3 separate regions of the Homo sapiens genome follow, and all the other regions are linked to region 2. The links are contacts of gene promoters, found by promoter capture Hi-C in blood cells and fetal thymus (Javierre and others, 2016). All regions are on one chromosome and are shown on one strand. Each heading gives the region's core, a stretch centred on a gene start or on the middle of the fragment in contact. The rest is flanking DNA. Distances are from core to core; before and after follow the strand shown. Region 1 overlaps RGMB (repulsive guidance molecule BMP co-receptor b). Region 2 holds the start of ELL2 (elongation factor for RNA polymerase II 2). Region 3 overlaps CHD1 (chromodomain helicase DNA binding protein 1).

Region 1 (4,556 bases), core at 151-2,650, 2.8 Mb after region 2:
ACTATCACAGCCACGCTGGAGCCAGGGAACACAGGAGAGGGGACCAGAACCCTCCCAGTTACCTTTTTTGTGGCTTGTTTGGAGATCCTCACCTCAGAACTTTCAAGGATAACTTCCAAACATGCAAAGTAGAAGGGGCCTGGCCACTCATAGATAATAATTATCTTTCAGTTCAAGTGACAAACGTACCTGTGGTCCCTGGATCCAGTGCTACTGCTACAAATAAGGCAAGTATACCTTCTTTTTTCCCTCTCCCTACTCAACTTTCAAAAGATGTTTGATTCTTCAGATAACTTTTGAAATGTGCTATAAAGGGCCTAGTTTAAAAGGAACTTCTTTTGAAAAGCAATTAACAGTTGATAAAGGGTTAAATAAAAATTATCTAGTAAGGAATTTCTTATTGGAATGTAAACGTGGTTCTAATTTTAAATAGACAGTGATATAAAGAATAAAAAGTAAACAGTGAAATTGAGTTCTCCAGGGAAAAGGCAGACCTGTTTAGTAAAAAAAGGATGCTTTTTTCAGTGATGTCTTTTTTTGAGTGCATATGTGTGTGACTCTTGAAGAAATCCATGTTCAGATTTATCAGATGATTGAAGTGGGTGTTCTGAATAAAGAAAGCTGTGAGGCCTGAGGCAGTGACGTATCAGGAAACATATTTTATTGGAGATTTGGAAGCTATAGTAAAACATAATGGCAATAAGCCAACTTCCCAGTGGTAAACCCACAGTGGTGGTTTAGTTACTAACCTCTTGATGACCGAGGAGGTTAATAATTGGATATTGCAGAGCAGCAATATGTAACCTGTGTGTAATCTCAGGGCCTCAGGTTAACAGTTTCAGTCAGAAGCTAAGAGAAACACTGACAAAATTTAGCTTACCATGACTAGCTGCCAGTTTATGTGGTCTGTGTTCGTTTGTTTTAAAGAAACTAATACTGTACAGAGATCTTTGACACCAACTTCAAGGCACCAGTGTTTAGTGCAAGCAGGTAGAGAGGACCTATGAACTAGGTTTCTAATTGGCAGTCAGTGCTAATTCAGCCATTAGTAAGTAAAGTCACTTTTCCACTAAAATAGTGTCCCGACTAACCACCTCCTTCCGTGTCTTTTCCAACCACAAAACCACACACATAGACCATCTCATCTTACTTTATTTCTTGCATTTATTGTATCCAAAAAAATTGGTTTAGTTTTTTAATGTAATTGACAAGACTCAAGCTTTTGAAATACTTACGACTGTTCTCTTGATTCCAGGACACCCTCCCCTGTGTCTAAACATGTGTGGTATACTTTTTAAATAAATTAAAGCTTATTTTACTTGGCATTTTGTGGAGGGAATTTTACAACACCTCGGGAGATATCTGCAGACACCCTGGGGTGTCACAAATTTAAGACTAGAAGTCATTGCCCTAATCAAAGACGACTGTTACACTGGTCTAGACATCTTAGGGGAACTCCAAAATGTTTATACTTCAACTCTCAGTAAAAGCTCAAGCTTGTCTTTTGCCTTACCAAATTCCATATCTCAAAATAAACTTTTCTCCCTCTGGTTTTTGTATGTACTCAAATCATTTTTTTATAAATATCTCAGAATATGTATTTGCTATAAATTATATATAAAGTTATAGAATTATGAAGTTATAAGAGAAACGATGGCCCCAAATCCATCATTACTGCAGAGTCATATGGCACATGAAAGCTGGGAATAGTCTTTGGGTAACTGAAAGAAGGCAGTCCATTGAGAATGGAAAAAGTCATCAATTGTGCAAATAATTGAGGACTTGGCAGAGTGACCTTCGAACAAAACTATAGAGATTAATCAGAGCTTGTAAATGGGGAAATACTCATTCTCTTCACAAGAAGCAGTATTCAAATTTTATTCTTCATGCCTTCCATCCGGTCATGTCACTTCTGTTATTCAGTCTTTCAGAATTCTATTGTTACTGATTATGGTGAAAATATGTGGGGGATAACCTTATGAATATTGCTATATATATGGAACAGTTTACACTGAAGTATTTAAGATCATTTTATTTCAGTTGAATTCTGTTGTAATTTTTAGCAAATAAATAAAAAGGACAATCTTGTTTTCTCCCTCAGTTTGGAATAAGGATCAAAGGTTTTACCCATTCAAAAAAAGTTGGAGAAAGTGGTCCTCTGACATAAATTCAAGTAGATGATGAGAATGCTTGGTCTTTAATTGCACTATTGGAAGGTATTTTCCCACATCTGGTGACCATGCTGTTCAGCAGCAAACTATTCTGTAGCCTCACTTCACAACCTCTAGGAGTTGTTGGGTTTGGTTCCCCATCCCCCTTCTCTTTGTAACTCTCTCCAAAGCCCCATAAGCATCTGGAAGGTTGCTCTTGAAGACCTGTCTCAATACTAGTATGACGTGTGCTGGTGAAACCAAAGAAAGGCCTAAATCTTACAATACGTTCCTTTTACCCAGCCAGGACCAAAATAAAACCTTTAAAAACCTTCAGCACAAAAAAGTGGTGGTGATAAAAATAAAAACAATAAGAGGCATAAAAGTGCTTATAAAATAAGTTCTAAACAAGATCTGAAATTTTCCCTTAATGTCTACCACCATACTTTCTTTAAAAAATCTTTTGAAAAATTTTTTCATGGAAATCCCAGCTTTACTGAGAATTTAAGCAAGTGCATAGACCAGTTGTTGGGTAACCTAGTACTGTGCCTTGTAGATACCAGATCATCCTTGTGTGGTCAAGTGTTTTTAATAACCCACGTGCTCAGTGCCACTAGATTGAAAGACTGATGTCATTGGCTAGCTGGCCAGCTGTGATACTGAAATTTTCGGAAACATCCATTCATTTCGCTCCCTTTAACACTGCACTGAAGCACTAGACCCCAGGGTATTTTGCTCAATGAGGCTACTAAGACAGCTTCTCAGTCCTGGGAACCTGGCCTCTTGAGCAAGCCGTCTTCAAGCCCAACTTTGTGAGCTCTGCCTGTTCCTAGGTACCCCCCTTTTCCTTATCACAAAAAGACAAAGTGGGGGAAAAATCTAAACACCATAGAATGAAATGAAGTCACCCGGGGCCATATATTAGCTAAGCCTTTTCTTTTTCTCTACATGGCAAGCAGTGAGTTCAAGGCAGACATGCCTGCGGTGCTTAATGATGTTGCCTCATCTCCCCTGGTCTACTGTTTTCTTCCCCACCATGGCCCTCTCCTCCCCTTCCTTGGGAAAGGTAGGGTTTGTTTTCCTGTTGGTCATGGTGTGCACAGGTATGCTTTCTCAAGGCCTCTGTGTTTTTAGTTTTGCCCTGTGCCTGCCTCCCTCTCTTTGGAGGAACCTGTGCCAGTTGGCTACCTTGCCAGGTAGATGTGTTTCTGAAGGGGAAGCCAGGGCTGGTTTTTCATCTCTCCACCCCGGGGGCTGCAGGGGTGTCTGGCACACACACATACCTCGGCTGACATCCACATCAGCTCTGGGCCATCTTCCCCACCTTTGGCTGTGAGAGGCGGCTACAGGCATGTAGGCACTCAGAATGAGATGAGAGGGACAGGCTCTGAACTGGCAGAGTTAGCTACACTGAGAAGAAAGGCAGGTTTTGTTTTGCAGGAGGAAGTAGCCCACCCTTCACAGGCTCCAGAGAGGGCACATGTCAGTAGTTGTCCTGTGCCTCACACACTCAAGATAAACCAGATGATCTGTTTTGAGGATGCTTGACTTCTTCCATGTTATTTTTGCCAACCTCTCAGTCTCAACTCTTGTTCATTCATTCTGTGGATCTTTATATCTCTGTTTAAGTGGGTTCAATAAGAATCTGTATATGCCATGATCACAGAAGGTGATTGGGGAATAAATTTTTTTATGAAAGATTCTGCACTTTGCAAATGTATTCCCAATAGCATATATTAAAATTGCCAGTCTCCAGGGAATTCAAAAGTATTCCTTTTTCAAAAACAATTCTGAAATTCATTTATTATTAAGTTGCATACCTAAACAAACAATGGAAATGTTTTTAGTAATTATTTTTGTACAAGTAGTTTGAATGCCTTCATTTTATTTTTCCTTTTGTTTTAATGTGGTTGTATCCTTTTTCACCACTCTTGCTTTCTTATTCTATCCTTCCACCTCAGTAACACAAAATAAAAAGTAGGAGTGGAGACTGGGGATGACAACAGGTCCTACTGCAGATCTTCTGCTACACATTTTACTGTGCCTCACCCTTGAGTGAGAGAAGGTAGTTTACCTTAAGGCGTTTGAATTTGGGAAAGGGCTGTGCTCATCGTACTTGACCAAGCAAGATGACTGTTAGGCAGATGGACAGATGCTCTGAGGTGCCTATCTTGTACGTTTTTGGTGCTGCCAACGGCCACCAGCTCCTGGCAATCCTATGGGCAGCACTCATCGCCTGTCCAAAGCATAGTAGCATACCCATCATGCATTATGGATAGTCTAAATTCCATACTTACCCCTGAATTTCAAATTCTGTAGCTACTTTCTTGGGAATTCTTGAAAATTTCCGCTGGTTGAAGATACTAGAGATGTAGAAAGACTTAGTTTGGTTTGCTTTTGGTTAAT
Region 2 (4,475 bases), core at 1,441-3,940:
CCAAGTGGACCTCCTCATCTGCCCACTTTCCCCACAAGTGTACACTGTCAATCTTGCTGTAATCAACTGTACAGTTGCCTGTTGTTTTCCCAAGGTAGCTGGCTGACCTACTGCCCCCAGAGATGCCTCTTCCCACCCACTGTGTGTCAAGTCTTTCTCTGCTCCTCGGGTCTGCTCCTGAATAGGGGCTGGCCGCCTCCTGCTGACTTCTTTTTCTCTGGGCCTCTGGGTTTTCTCTTCACATCCCCAGACCTACCTTCTTCCCACTGCCATTCCTTCCCACGCCCTTCCCTTGGAACAGGCAAGCTTATCTTTCCATCTTGCAAGGCTGAGTTTCTCTCCAGAGTTTCTCTCCACTGTCTGCTTCTGTCCCTCTGCCTGTGTTTCTGGCTTCCCCCATATGGGCCTCCCACTCCGTCTGATGCTGGTCTCTTCACTGCAGGTGCACCTATCTAAGAGTAGCTATTGGCACATGCAGTTTTCTATTTCTTGTATCTCTCCCAGCCATTCTTGAGATTTTCTCTCGAGATTTCACTGTATGTAGGACGGTACCTTTCTCCCTGTGCATGCACTCCTCCCTGACGCCCCCTCACCCCACCACACAAAGTCTGTGAGTCCTTTTCACCATATGCTTCTCTGGTTAGTAACACAAGTGTCCTAGCACGTACATTCATGTGTCCACCCAATTCTGTGAGTACCTTCCTAACAATACACTCACCTCTGAGCCTCCACTGCTGTTTACAAATACCCTATCATGTGAGTTCATTTTCTATCCAAAGCGTGCACAACTAATGCCTTCCTCTGTGTGCACACTTATGGGGTGGGGGGGCTCTCTGAATACACTCCCAGTAAACCAGGGTTCACACCTCTCCTGCCGCTCTGCCTCAGACTCTGCCTTCGCTCTATGTATTTAAAGTGCCTGGCACTAGTGGGAGCTCAACAGATGTCAATTCTTTTCCCCACTTTTAGCTGAATAACTATGTGAATCTGTGTCTCGGTGTCCTTCTGCCCCTCTGTCTGTTGTACGAGACCGGTTGGAGTGTGTTCCTCAGTACCGAACGGGCTATTTGTAAGATGCCCCGTGGGTTCTATCTCCCTTCCGACTCTCTCCTCTCCTGTAAAACGTTACAGGTTCCCCCATATGGCATATCCCTCCCTCACGCGATGTATCCACTCCGGTCTCCCACAGTACTGCATGTCCATAAACTGTTTCCCCATGCACCCTGGTTACCGCGTCCCTTCTCGGTGCTTCCCTGTCTCTCCCATTTTTTTTCCAACATGAAAGCGTCTGGATTTGTAGTCCAATTACAGTGTATGTGCGCCTATCTGAGCCTCTCTCTGTACTGGAGGGGTGTGTGTGTATATGTGTGTGTGTGTGTCCATGGGCTTCTCTCGAAAACGAGGGGTGAGAGGCCCGAGTCTCTGCCCGGGATGCATTGTATCCTCCCCACACCTTCTGGCTCTGGCTCGTTCCCCGTTTACACTTCCCAGAGTCAGCCCAAGACGCCGGGAGCTTTTTCGGGTACGTTGAGCGTCCGTGAACCTCTCTCTCCAGAACCCGATGTCTTGCTCCCGGGGAGCGCTAAGTGTGCGTGAGTCCTCAGGTCTCTCCCCAGGGCACTGTGTTGGTTTGTGTCCGTCCTGGACGCGGCGCGTCTCCAGTAACGCGATGCGCCGGTGTCCCGGAGTCCCTGGGAATGCAGGTGTGTCCCCTCCCCCCCCGTACGCGAAGCGCCAGTGTCCCCGCCGTTCCAGTGTGCGCCGCCCCCTTACACGGACTGCCTAAGTCCCTATCTCTATGAGTACACCGTGTGCCCCTCACCATGCGCCCGAGTCCCCATCCCTTCGAGCACACAGTGTGTCCCCTGATACGTGGAGCGCCTGTGTCCCCAAGTCCCTGGGAATACAAGGTCCCACCCCCACACGCGGAGCGCCTGTGTCCTGTCTCTGAGGATCCACCGTGCCTATGTAACTGGAAAACGCGGGCAGCTGGTGCCCGCGAGTCGTCCCTGGTTCCTTGCCCATACGCTGCTCGCTACCCTCCTTCCCCGCCGAGGGTAGCGTGGTCATCTCACTTCTCTTATCGGGGCCTCTCTCCCTCCTTGGGACCCAACAAGCCAGGAAATCCTCGGGGGCCGTCGGAAAGTCCCGCAGCGGCAGCGCAGCCGACCCAGGGCTGCGGCTGCCTCGGCCCCGCCGCCAGGGGCCGCCCGACTGCCCGCTTCCCCAACGCCCAGGCTAGCCCGGGACCGCGGCGTCAGCCACCCTGCCCGGCCCTGCCCTGCCTGGCCGCTGCGGGCGCTGACGGTAGCAGCTGCCAGCCACGGCTCCGCCGGCCCCGCACCCGGGCGCGGCCAGGCCGTGAGGGGTGCGCTCTGCCTCTCTGAGCCCAGCCTGCCGGCCGGCCCGCTCACCTTGTGGCTCTGGTAAGTCTCGAGCGCCCGGATCGCCGTCTCGGTGAGCTTCACATGCAGTACGGTGATGTTGTCCTGCCCCAGCCGTCCGCACGACAGCCCATAGCGCTGCTCCTCCCGCAGGCCCCCTGTCCCCCCCGCCGCCATCTTAAACTCCCCGGGGTGCCGCCGCCGCCGCCGCTCCGGCTCTAGCCTCCACTGCGGCCGCGGCTGCTTGGGCTTCTGCAGCCGCCGCCACTGCTAGGGCCATCCCGCTGCTGACGTACTGTCATATACTGCGCGGAGCCAGACCTCGGACTGCCACCGCCGCCACCCGCCCCACCCTCCGGCCCCGCGCCCCGCCCCGGGCTCGTCTCATTGGTCTTGTTCCCTTCAGAACCGCCCTCATCGGCCGCCCTCCACTCTCACGGGGGCGGGCCCAAAGTCACTAGAGTTTTGCTCCTGGGACGGGACGTCCGAGAGGTAAGAGGCTGACGTCTAGGTGACGCGCCAACTTAATCATGTCTGACGTCACGTCTGGTCGTCTTGGCTAGCCGGCCGAGATTGGCCAGGCTGGCTTGGGGACTCCCCTGCTAATTGGAAGTCCAGGTTGCCTGGTCTGGTTACCTGGAGTTGGAGCCCCGCCCCTGTGGGGGATAGTAGTGAAAAGTCAGAATTGGGGAATCTCGCCCTACGCGGGTGGTCCTTGGAGAGGAGGATCTCCACCTCCACTATGTAAGGGGATGGCCGTGACCAAATAAGGACTTTGTTCCCCGACGGCTGCGGAAGCTGTGGAACTTGGTGCGTGCGTGTGGGGGAGGACGCAGCAGGAGGACTCGCTAGAGAGCTGCTCCTCAAAACTCCTAGTACTGTAGTTGAGCAAACGGCATTGGGAGGAAACTGCTCACTCTAAACTTGAAGTTATCGGGTGCCACACGCAGAGCTTATAAAAACAAAAACAAAAACAAAAACCCTTGAAATTAGTGAGTCGACTCTTAGATGTAGGAGTTGTGTTAGATCTTGTGGAGCATCTTAAGGACAAAATCACGCGGGAGGTTAAATGCCTTTCGTATGGTGGGCATGGTATAATAGAGAATTGAGCTTCGAGGTCTTTCCTACGCCATGCCCTGTTGTGATTCTCTGGGATCACAACTGGTGGGGATGATATCTCCTTAAAAAGGACTCTAGAAGAAGAGTAAAACTGGCATTGATCTAAATTAAAAGAAACCTCGACAATTCTCATTCTCTAATTCAGTTTGAGTATTGTCCTTTTTATTTGATAGGGCTGTGTGAAAACCTAGCTAGGGTTTAAAGGTAAGAGGCTGTCGAGGTTAAGCGAAGGAGATGGGGGCGTGAGGGGCGTGCAAAGGCCTGGCATACTTTCCATTCCATCCACAGGATGCTTCCTGTGTAGGCGTGGCTAAAAGAGGGAGCCTAATCTGGAGTCCCTTTCAGATTGTGTGTGGATAGACTGACAGATGGGTTCCTGTCAGAGGATGGATTAATTGGTTGATCAGAAACACCAGATAAAACAAACCATTGAAAGCTTTCAAACTGTTGAAAGGCAGTTTAAAAAAGTTCTTTTAATAAAAAAACTGAGACGCTTGTTTTTACCCTCAGCTTATAAAACCATGTTCTGTTCTACTGGGATTCCCCGGGAAAGTTTATAGATATTTAATCAGTATTTTTCATTATTTTAAATGGATTAGGGCCATGATTCCATGTCCTCCCCTCCCAATAAATGCCTTCCCCACCGTACGGGTACACTCCTTTTTGATTCAGACCTTCAAACATAGTAGGTGTATAATGTGAATTACAGAATGAATTGGATTAAGTGGAAACACCTGTATTAAGTGTTACTCCATCACAGGAAAACAGTTTGTAAATTGACTTAATTTCAATCCACTAAGATTGGCTAGCTGTTAAGACGTGATTAACGCTTGCTAATTTCATTTACTTTAGTGATACAGTGTTATCTTAAATTCATGTAGTAGAGATATTAAGGTAATCATCAAATTGGATTAAAAAGTTTACTCTTAGAAGGGAAATAGAGGCTTTACTACCTAGTTTTCTCCGCTTTCC
Region 3 (4,687 bases), core at 63-2,562, 3.0 Mb after region 2:
TATATGAACTTAATACATAAGAATCACTTAGAATCTTGTTAAAATGAAGATTCTGATTCAGTACGTCTGGGGCGAGGCACAAGGTTCTACAGTTATAATAAGCTCCCAAATGATGCCAACACCGCTGGTCCACGGACCACAACTGGTGCAACTTTTCTATTTCTGTAGTTTTAAATATTTCCCATTTTAAAAAAAGGTTAAACATTTTCTCCATTCATCATAAAGTAATACTCATTTTAAAACACAAAACTGCACCATATATAACCAATCAGTCATCAAGATCTTAAACAAGCAGCTACTTAAGCAGAGTAAAAGGGGTAACATCACATTAATGTTTGCCCACACATTATGACTACATACAGAAAAGTAATCTTTGAAAGGTAACTCATACACCATTCTGATCTTTAACCATATAGCCATTCCTGAAGTAAATCATCACTCAAGATAACTTATTTAAAACTAAAAAAAGTCAGCCAGGCGCAGTGGCTCATGCCTGTAATCCCAGCACTTTGGGAGGCCGAGGTGGGTGGATCACAAGGTCAGGAGTTCAAGACCACCAGCCTGGCCAACATGGTGAAATCCCATCTTTACTAAAAATACAAAAATTAGCGGGGCATGGTGGCGGGCACCTATAATCCCAGCTACTCAGGAGGCAGAGGCAGAAAACTGCCAGAACACAGGAGACGGAGGCTGCAGTGAGCCAAGATCGTGCTACTGCACTCCAGCCTGGGCAACAGTGAGACTCCATCTCAATTAAAAAAAAACAAACCACACACACACTAAAAAAAAGTCTACCAGGATTTGAAAAATTTGCTTGCAAATACCACCACAAATCCACACAGCTGCAAATTGATGCTTTGAAATCTTCCAGCATTATCTTTAAAAAGCTTAACTTCAGTTACATAAAACTTTGTGTTGAGCTGTAACTGTTATACAGGTGCATCCTGGCCCACATTTCTTAGTAACTAAATTTCAAGACTGTCAGCAATAGCATAGCAAAAGAGACATATTTTTCCTGTGTATTCTTCTTCCTTTCAGTGAATAGTTATAGAGAGATCTCCAGACAGAAAGAATAGTTAAAAATTTTTTTTTTCAGTAGAAAGCTAACTGTAACCTGCAAATGCCAAATGAATTCTTTCTTAATTCTATTCCGTTTAATAAACTTTCACAAAAGAAAAAGGAAATTTTGAAGCAAAAATACATTATAGAATTCTAGCCACTAAAAAACCAAAATTTACTTTAAAAAGCTACTTACAATGAATATCAACTTTAGAAACAAAGTATATTTCTAATCTAATTATATTAGGGGCCAGGCACGGTGGCTCATGCCTGTAATCCCCAGTGCTTTGGGAGGCCAAGGCGGGCAGATCACCTGAGGTCAGGAGTTCGAGACCAGCCTGGCCAACATGACGAAACACCGTCTCTGCTAAAAATACAAAAATTAGCTGGATGCAGTGGTGCATGCCTGTAGTCCCAGCTACTCGGGAGGCTGAGGCAGGAAAATTGCTTGAACTCGGTAGGCGGAGGATGCAGTGAGCCGAGGTCATACCGCTGCACTGCAGCCTGGGCGACAGAGCAAGACTCTGGCTCAAAAAAAAGAAAAAAAATTACTCTATATTAATATTCATAGTTATAGAAACTTTAGTTTTTTTTGCAAGAAAATCCCTCTACCTCTAAAGTTCACCTCCTCAGTCTTTTAACTAGGCACAATCTCCCTTCTTTGTAATGTCTTATGACAAAAGCTTCTGGGGAAGGGAGTGGGAATTGAGTGTTAATGACAGTAGAGCATAGTATAGCAGCGGTAAGAAAGAAAATGAAGGCAAAAAAGAAGGTCTCTCTCCTGATAAACTCCAAGGCAGTTGTAAAAACTAGATAACTTGATAACCACACTTTTCAGAAGCACACAAAACCTGTATAGCAGAATTAACAACTCCGAATAATTAAAGAAATATGCTTTGCAATTATTTAAGATGAGTATGCATTGTAAAAGATTCCTTAAATTTGATTTCGCAAGGTTTAATTTTTTTTTTTTTTTTGAGACGGAGTTTCACTTGTTTCCCAGGCTGGAGTGCAATCGCGCAATCTCCGGCTCACTGCAACCTCCGTCTGCCTCCTGGGTTCAAGCAATTCTCCTGCCTCAGCCTCGCGAGCAGCTGGGATTACAGGCCACCACACCCAGCTCATTTTGTATTTTTGGTAGAGACAGGATTTCTCCATGTTGGTCAAGGTGGTCTCGAACTCCCAACCTCAGGTGATCTGCCTGCTCGGCCTCCCAAAGTGCTGGGATTACAGGCGTAAGCCACCGCACCCGGCCACAAGGTTTAATTTTTTTTCACCTGTAGTATCAAATTGGACTTATTACTCCTCCTCGCTTTAGATATGGCAGAAAAATATATAAAATATTGGAACAGGTAAGTAGTCAGAATATACCAGCACATGATCTGTCTGCATATCCAACTAGAAGATTTACTCTCGAGTCTTATCTCCTATTTTATGAATAGTTTGGTTCCTTTGTTTCCTCTAGGTATTTCTACCTACTAACCATTCCATTCCAACTATGAATAAGAAAATGTGAGGCCGGGTGTGGCAGCTCACACCTGTAATCCCAACACTTTGGGAGGCCAAGGTGGGAGGACTGCTTGAGCCCATGAGTTCAAGACCAGCTGAGGCAATATGGTGAGACCTCATCTCTACAAAAAATTTTAAAATTAGCTGAGTGTGGTGGCATGCACGCCTTTCAGGATGCTGAGGTGGGAGAATCGTTTGAGCCCAGGAGGTGGAGGCAGAGGCTGCAGTGAGCTGAGACTACACAACTGTACTCCAGCCTGGGTGACAGAGTGAGGCCCTGTCTCAAAAGAAAAGAAAAGAAAAAAAAAATTGTGGGTGGACAATATGACTCTTCTATTTACTTAACTATAGTCAGTAGTCAACATACCTATAGAGATTTGAATCAAAGCTCAGATTCAAAAGTCTTTTAATTAAACCTCAACTCTGGTGATTCTAGTAAAACTTTACTGTTTGAAACTTTACGATGCACTTTGTAATTAATTAAAATGAAACTTCAATATCAGTTCAATCCTTAGAGTTGAGGCAATCATATGAGTTTTAATTAATGCAGAGATAGCATCAACTCAGGTTGTATAACTCCTAGACCAATACTTGTTCAAGTAATAATGCTGCTTTCCATAACTGTTCCTTATTTTATTCTCTATGATGTTCTTGCTTATCCAAACAGTATGTATGAAAGCTGATAAACTAAAGTATAACTAGCAAGGTCAGAAAATTCCAAGTGTCAGGCCTGGCGTGGTGGCTCATGCCTATAATCTCAGCACTTTGGGAGCTCGAGGCAGGTGGATCACTTGAGGCCAGGAGTTCGAGACCAGCCTGGCCAATGTGGCGAAACCCCATCTCTACAAAAAAAATACAAAAATTAGCTGGGAGTGGTGGCTAGCGCCTGTAATCCCAGCTACTCCGGAGGCTGAGGTAGGAGAAACACTTGAGCCTGGGAGGTGGAGGTTGCAGTGAGCCGGGATCACACCACTGCACTCCAGCCTGGGCGACAGAGCAAGACTCTGTCTCAAAAAAAAAAAAAGAAAAAGAAAAGTCCAAGTTTCAGATCAAATACAAATACCACTATTTAGTTTTCTATCTAACATTTTTTCTTAATCTTCCTAATTGCCAAAACTTTCCTGTTTCTTGTCCACCCCCATGTCTCCATCACTGTAATTAATGTTTTTTTTATATAGTATCCTGTGTTACACAAAACATGCTGGTTACAATAAGCAAATATTCAGTGCTCATTATCTCAGAAAATATTTTAAGCCCTTTACATGAAGCATCTCAATCCTCAAATTTTTTTTAAATTTTATTTTTTATAAATTACAGACAAAGTCTCACTATGCTGCCTAAACTGGTCTCCAACTTTTGAGTTCAAGTGATCCTCCTTCCTCAGCCTCTCAAAGTGCTGGGATTACAAACAGGATCCAACAAGCCCAGCCGTGAACTTTAAATAAGATAAACAATAGTTTAATCCCCTCTTTATGGGGCAAAAATCAGAGCCTCAGAGATTAAGTAATTTGCCCTAATTCACACAACTAATAAGAGGTAGAAATAGGGTAAGCAAACAGTTTGACTCCAGTGCCCACATTCCTAATTTCTATATATGATAATGCATATAACTACATGGATTGTAAACTAATGTGCAGATAACTCAAAATTTGAGAGCTACAGAATTTAAAGAATCTTCTTTGCAAACACTTGACCCAAGCAAGAACTCTTAACTCCTTCACAGATAATTAAAACTCCAATCTGAAAATAAAAAAGGGCCACAGTAATATTTCAACAAATGTCTGGCTCAGCACTGTCTAAAACTTTCTCCAGTGATAGAATGTTTTCTATGTGCTGTCCAATATGGTAGCCACTAGCCACATGTGATTATTCAGCACTTGAAATATATCTAGTATGACTAAGTAAATTCTGAATATTTTGTAATTGAGTTCAAATAGCCACATGTGGCTAGTGGTTACCACACTGGACAGTACAGGTATAGAAGACAAAATGCCAGAAAAAGATGAGTGAAAAAATTTTTATTGCCTTCATCTAGAAATTTCACTAACAGTCAAAACAATTTAAATCTATTATACATGCTCCAGCTTAATTATTAGCTCAAATATAAACTTCCAAATAG

The links. Contacts are between HindIII fragments. The CHiCAGO score rates a contact against its expected background, and 5 or more counts as called.
Region 1: a fragment that was not itself captured here is called in contact with the fragment with the promoter of ELL2 in region 2 in 3 of 17 cell types (naive B cells, naive CD8 T cells and total B cells); the score reaches 6.2 in naive B cells.
Region 3: a contact is called between a fragment that was not itself captured here and the fragment with the promoter of ELL2 in region 2, in 1 of 17 cell types (total B cells). The highest score is 5.6, in total B cells.

Annotation. Positions count from the first base shown.
Region 1 is chr5:98,779,862-98,784,417 of GRCh38, forward strand. It overlaps RGMB (repulsive guidance molecule BMP co-receptor b), which reads left to right. Exons shown (of 3, transcript NM_001366508.1): 2 at 1-227. Among named protein-coding and RNA genes, the nearest start is that of RGMB, 8.5 kb to the left of the region's middle. RefSeq lists an enhancer at 1-452. The HindIII fragment of the contact is 187 bases long and covers 1,308-1,494 here.
Region 2 is chr5:95,959,161-95,963,635 of GRCh38, forward strand. It overlaps ELL2 (elongation factor for RNA polymerase II 2), which reads right to left and starts at 2,691. Exons shown (of 12, transcript NM_012081.6): 1 at 2,415-2,691. The coding sequence starts at 2,561. LOC101929710 (a long non-coding RNA gene) reads left to right here and starts at 2,841. Exons shown (of 5, transcript NR_130776.1): 1 at 2,841-2,876. It also overlaps a transcript of CAST not described here. RefSeq lists silencers at 2,105-2,514, 2,585-2,824, 2,780-3,247 and an enhancer at 2,543-3,300. The HindIII fragment of the contact is 3,633 bases long and covers 305-3,937 here.
Region 3 is chr5:98,921,399-98,926,085 of GRCh38, forward strand. All of the region lies in intron 2 of CHD1 (chromodomain helicase DNA binding protein 1), which reads right to left. Among named protein-coding and RNA genes, the nearest start is that of CHD1-DT, 4.8 kb to the right of the region's middle. The HindIII fragment of the contact is 855 bases long and covers 886-1,740 here.